Linked DNA regions of Homo sapiens: region 1 is linked to region 2. Evidence: promoter capture Hi-C in 16 types of primary human blood cells and fetal thymus (Javierre and others, 2016). All regions are on one chromosome and are shown on one strand. The core of a region is centred on a gene start or on the middle of the fragment in contact, and the rest is flanking DNA. Distances in the headings are between cores, read along the strand shown.

Evidence for each region. The method cuts DNA at HindIII sites, captures the fragments that hold promoters and counts their contacts. A CHiCAGO score of 5 or more calls a contact.
Region 1: a contact is called between a fragment that was not itself captured here and the fragment with the promoter of RNF157 in region 2, in 1 of 17 cell types (endothelial precursors). The highest score is 5.0, in endothelial precursors.

What each region holds. Positions count from the first base shown.
Region 1 is chr17:75,927,744-75,930,709 of GRCh38, forward strand. It overlaps FBF1 (Fas binding factor 1), which reads right to left. Exons shown (of 30, transcript NM_001319193.2): 7 at 2,254-2,304; 8 at 333-450. Among named protein-coding and RNA genes, the nearest start is that of FBF1, 12 kb to the right of the region's middle. The HindIII fragment of the contact is 1,427 bases long and covers 753-2,179 here.
Region 2 is chr17:76,238,706-76,241,742 of GRCh38, forward strand. RNF157 (ring finger protein 157) reads right to left here and starts at 1,788. Exons shown (of 19, transcript NM_052916.3): 1 at 1,448-1,788. The coding sequence starts at 1,535. It overlaps LOC105371896 (a long non-coding RNA gene), which reads right to left. Exons shown (of 6, transcript XR_007065913.1): 6 at 2,157-3,037. RefSeq lists an enhancer at 756-1,428 and silencers at 1,733-1,872, 1,893-1,962. The HindIII fragment of the contact is 1,725 bases long and covers 925-2,649 here.

The DNA.
Region 1 (2,966 bases), core at 216-2,715, 310 kb before region 2:
CATGAGTCACTCCAGAGACATGGGTTCAGGAGAGGCACAGGCTGCCATAGAGTTCTCCATTTTAACTCACACAGCTTCTCCAGGAGCTGCCCATGTTGGACCCAGAGGGCCTGGAACAGCTCGAGGAAGGGAGGAAACTCAAGCTGTCCCCTTACCCCACCACACACACTCAAACACACACACGCACAAATGCTCCTTGGCCTCTCCATCCTGTGCAGAGAAAACCCAAGGACATGAACGCTTCCTACTAGCATCTTCCACGTCCTCAAAGTCTCCCTAGCAGATGCGAGGAGCCGTCTCCCATGCACCTTTCTCACTGGCTACTGACCCACCTGCAGGCTTGGGGTGGTTGGGCAGCTCTCCTTTCCCAGGGTCCTTTGCAGCTTTTTTGCTAGGGGCTGAATTAGATTTCTTCAGACCTAAGATATCAGCATCCATGCCGTCCAGGTCCTAGAAAACCAGGGAGGGAGGGCAGAGGACTATGTCTGATAAGGGGCTGAGGACTTCCACCTGAGAGAGATGGGCTGTTGGCACCCCAGGTGTAGAATTGTGAGAAAACAAAGGAAAATGAGAAAACTGTTGAGAAAAACAGTGAGTGAAGAAAGAAAATGGAACTAAAGGTAAGCAGGGGGAGGTGGAATGGAGTCCAGCTCATGGTTCTGGGATGAGAGACTCAAAGTCAGCACCAAAAATTGAGTCAGAGGACTTGTGGGTTATGCCCAGGGATCCTAGGTGGCTGGTCTCGGGAAAAAAGCTTTCTTTTTTTTCTTTTTTTAGACAGGATATTGGCCGGGCGCGGTGGCTCATGCCTAGAATCCCAGCACTTTGGGCCGAGGCAGGTGGATCACCAGGTCAAGAAATCGAGACCATCCTGGCCAACATGATGAAACCCTGTCTCTACAAAAAATACAAAAATTAGTTGGGTGTGGTGGTGCACGCCTGTAATCCCAGCTACTTGGGAGGCTGAGGTAGGAGAATCGCTTGAACCTGGGAGGTGGAGGTTGCAGTGAGCCGAGATCATGCCACTGCACTCCAGCCTAGGCAACAGAGCAAGACTCCGTCTCAAAAAAATAAAAATAAATTAAAAATAAAATAAAATAAAGACAGAGTCTCACTCTGTCACCCAGGCTGGAGTGAAGTGGTGCGATCATAGCTCATTGCAGCCTCCAACTTCTGAGCTCAAGTGATCCACCTGCCATGGCCTCCCAAAGTGCTGGCATTACAGGAGTAAGCCACCATGCCAGACTTTTTTTTTTTTTTTGAAGACAGAGTCTCACTCTGTCACCACCCAGGCTGTAGTGCAGTGGTGTGATCATAGCTCATTGCAGCCTCCAACTCCTAGGCTCAAGCGAGCCTACTGCCTCGGCCTCCCAAAGTTCTGGGATTACAGGTGCCTGGCCTTTGAGGAGAAAGATTTCAAGATGAGATTAAAGAAGCTGAATCTGGACCGGGTGTGGTGCCTCATGCCTGTAATTACAGTATTTTGGGAGGCCAAGGTAAGAGAATCGCTTAAGGCCAGGAGTTTAAGGTTGCAATGAGATCACACCACTGCACTCCAGCCTGGGTGATAGAATGCGATGGTGTCTCTAAAAAAAAACCCAAAAAACAAAAATACACAACAAAAACAAGAGCCCCACAGGGCTGTAACCAAAAACGCGGCTTTGTCCTAGGGACTGTGGCAAAATGGGTTAACTAAAAGGGACACAAAACCCCAAGGGTCAGACAGGAAGGTGCTGCTGGCTGGAAGGAGAGGGAGAACAAGGTGTCTTAGGCCAAGCTAGAGATTATGTCCTTACAAATTATTCAGAATCTGTGCCTTAAAAATCCATTGCAAAGATTGGCGCTGGGCTTGATCTGATGAGAAGACAGCAGTATTGAAGGGGGCTTGGCAGGGGATGTGGAGAGAAATATGGAGAAAGATTAAGAACAAGCATTAGAGGAAAGAGTCTCCCCCTCTGTCTTCTAGGTGGAGGTGAGGGGACCCAGCTAGGTGGGCCTCCGAGTAGAGCTGGCCCCGTTTCCCCAGAGGCCTGTGGCACTCTCCACTCTCTATATACCAGGAACACTGGTTGATACTCAGAAAGGCAAGGAGGCCAACGGCTCACAGACGAGTTCCATGCTTGCACGAGGAAGGGCTCAGAAACACAGGTTGTAAAGGGAGAAATTAGAAGGAGAATGAAGCTTTGGTACAAAATATCATGACCCCACCCCACCCACCCCCAGTTCTAAGAATCGTGCAAGCTGTTTCCTTACCTTCATGGCCTGGAGCAGAGCCTGTGGGTCTGCCTCTGAGATACCTGAAACCTAAGTCCACAATGAGGGTGAGGACACAGATGAGGAGGCACATTAGTCAAGGCCCAATAAAACTCAGGGTCCTGGCCCCTTGCTTCTGTTAGGGCAGACGGCGCGGCAGGAGCAGAGCTTGGCCAATGGAGCTTACACAGGAGGGTGGCTTTGTTCCCCTTGCTTGGGCTTGGCAGTTGTTTGAAGCCAAACCTGCCTGGTTTTAGAGACTCAGAGAGCACTGCCATTCCTACTCCTTCCAACCATAGAGAACTCTTCCATCCAGGACTGAAATTCTGCTACTTCCCACCCATGCCAATGGACAGCTATGGAGTTTATAAGGGGAAAGGAGCAACATCTAAGACTCTAGCAGTTTCAGGGAGCTCTCCTTTCCACTCATCTTACTACAGGAAAGAGGATTCTGCTTTGGGTCCACTCGGCAGCCCTTGGGCATTATTTACAGTGGCTCACGCCTGTAATCCCAGCACTTTGGGAGGCCGAGGCGGGTAGATCACTTGAGGTCAGGAGTTTGAGGCCAGCCTGGCCAATGTGGTGAAACCCCGTCTCTACTAAAAATACAAAATTACCTACTAAAAATACAAAAATTATTTTCTTTGGCTGGGCACGGTGGGTCAGCCTGTAATCACAGTACTTTGAGAGGCCGATGTGGGTGGATCAAGAGG
Region 2 (3,037 bases), core at 538-3,037:
CTGCATATTTTTGTCTATTTTAAAAAGTTTTCCTCATGCCGCCCTAAGAATATTTTTGTCTATTAAAAAACAAAATCTATGCCTTGGTTAGCGTTGATTTTATGTAGTCATAATCAGTCAGAGCTTTATTAAAATACTAACGACCCACAGCTTTATCTTAGACCTTTCTAAAACAATTCTTCACCATATTCATCTTTGCAAGGATTCATTCTTTGGTACAAAAGCAGTGAGAAACACAGCTCTGGCAGACACTCTGCAGGGATGCGGGCAGGTTCATCGTCTGGCCCCTGCTTTCACCTGGCAGACACTGGACACACTGCTGAGAAACCAGCTCATCTCAGTATGTCTCTATTCTACCAAAAAGAGACGAGGCTCTGCTCCAATTCTGACACCTCATTCCGAAATCACCAAAATCTCCATCGGGTCCTAAGCAGACAGAATGTCGCAGCCATTCATCCTCAGAAGTCTTGAGAATAAAATTAAAAGTAATTAATTAAAATAAAACTACTTGCAATTAAAAGTAAACACCGGCTAGGTCATGCAATTCATACTGGCCGGTGCTCACATAACTGAACTACCTTGTGATTCTCTGCTTTGCTGTCAAAATCCTCCTCCACCTCCAATGCTGATACCACAATCCAGAGGCTAGAGACATTTAAGTGAAGGGATGATTCTAATAACAAACATACTTCTATACGTTTCCAATACCTCTGCCCTGTCCCAGAGCTGGTCCCACTCCAAAACCCAGGCTTGCCACTACGCTAGCAAAGGGGCAATCCGAGTAACTCTGATACTCAGATTCCCAAACATTTCTGTTACTTTCCACCACCACCACCCCCCCCACCCCCCGGCTTCTGACAGCCTCTGCAAAAGCACCAGCACTGCAAATGCCTGTTTGGCTTCCATCCTTCAGCAGGCAATGGAAGCTTTTCCAGGAGAAACCTAATTCTAACCTTTCCAGAGGCCAGGAGACGGCAGCGCAGGGATAGCACCTGGCGCAAGTGCCTGTTTGGATGCCGAGGTCGCCTCCCTCGCGGCCCTCGGACCCCGCGAGGCAGGTAGGCTTTGGGCCGGGCCGGCCGGGTCCGTGCGGGGCGCCGACCTCGCCTACGACGCCGCAGCCCCGCTCCCCAGGAGCCTCGGTCCCTGCGGGCACGCGTCCCCGTCACGGGGCCGATTACAATGGAGGCCGCTCCCGTCCTCCCGTGGAGGGGCTCGGTGCCCTCGGTGACCCTGCTAGACCCGGCAGGACGCCCCTTGGGCTAATTCGCCCGGGGCGGGGGAGACCTCGGCCTTCTCGAAGACCTCCCGCGCTCGAAGACCGTTTCGGAGCGTCCGCAACCACTGAGTCCCCGAAGACCCGCGGGGCCCCCTCAGGCCGTCCCGACCCAGACCCCTGCCCCTGCCCCTCTCCCTCCTCGCGGCTGCGGCGCCCGCCCGCCCTCACCGGACTTGGGCGGGTAGCGGTACACGGAATTAGACGGGATGTCCACCTCCTCCACGCCCGCGTGCTGCCGGCTCGTCAGGGCCCCCATGGCCGCTGCGGCTGCAGCCCCGGCCCGGCCCCGGTGCCCGCGCCGCCCTCCGCGCTTCACCGCGGCCGCCCGCCCCGCGCCCGGTGCGGGGGCCGACTGCCCGCCGCGGCCGGCTCCGCTGCGGCGCTGCGGCTCTGGCGGCGGGGAGCCCCCGGCGCGCCGCGCACCATCCTCCGCCGGGCACCGCGGCGGCGCCTCTGCCAAGGGGGCTGCGGGTCTGGGCCGGGGGCGCCGCCGCCGCCTCAGGCCGCGTGATGTCAGCGGCCGCTCCGCGCGGGGACCGCGGCGGCCCCAGCCAATGGCGAGGCGGGGCGGGAGCGCCCGCGCCGGAGCAGCCAATGAGCGCGGGACTGCAGCAGGAGCCGGCGGCGCGTGCCTCGCGCGGGGAGCCGCGGCTGGACTCGGCGCGCGTGGACGCGGCCCAGGGCCTCGCGGCGGGGGCGTGGGCGTGGGCGGGGACTCGCGACGGGGACGGGGGCGCGGCCGGGTGCCCGCGGCGGGGCGGGGCGGGACCGGCCGGAGCTGGGACCCCAGGAGACGAGCGCTGCACCCGGCCGGGACGCGTCGCCCCTCCGCGCCTGTTTATCCCGGCTCGGATTACCGCGCAGGGAGCCGCCCCCTCCCGCGGTCCGCGAGGACTGGCCGGGAGCTCGCTCGCCATTGTCCTGGGCGTCCCAAAGCGGGCGGTCCCCGCTCCGCTGCTCCCGCGCCTGGAGGAAGCCTTCCCAACCCCGCCCCTCAGCGTCGGCCGGCGGAGGTCTTCGGAAATCTCATGCAGGGGGGTAGGGAGAGGGGTCCCACGGTGCATTCGCATGTCTCCTGCCCCGTGTTAATGCTGGTGACCGGCTAGGAAGATGCCGCCTCCCTCTCACGTGCGTCTATTCAAAGCGCTCCCAACTCTATACATGCTGTTTAAGGCTCCTTGTAGCCCTAAAGTTAGGAGAACATCGACTGAGGATAAGATCAAGACATCCAGCCTCTGTCTGTATCGTGGAAACGGGACCCCGGAAACTTTGGAAAGGCCTGAGTGCCAAGAGAGTCAACGCAGGCGAAAGCGAACCGGGCCAGGCAGAACCGGGAGCTCCTGTTGATAAAAACACACACAACAGTGGGAAGCTTGGGCCGGCGGAAGACGTCATTCCATTGCTTAATTACAGACATTTGTGTTTTAAACCTTCTATTTTCTTTGTGGGTCTGGTGTTTTTTTTCCTGAGAGAGTGGACTGATCAGCAAACATTTCAACTGCTAGAACATGACTTTCACAACTTTTCAACAGTGTTCGAAGTACAGTTTGGGGTGTCTGGTTCCCTTGATTAGGTTTGTAAAGCTATTTTACGGAGTCTAGGTCTTTCCTGGTTATATTTTGTTTTTGTTTTTCTGTGTTTTGAGACGGAGTCTCCCTCTGTCGCCCAGGCTGGAGTGCAGTGGCGTGATCTCAGCTCACTGCAACCTCCGCCTCCTGGGTTCAAGGGATTCTCCTGCCTCAGCCTCCCGAGTAGCTG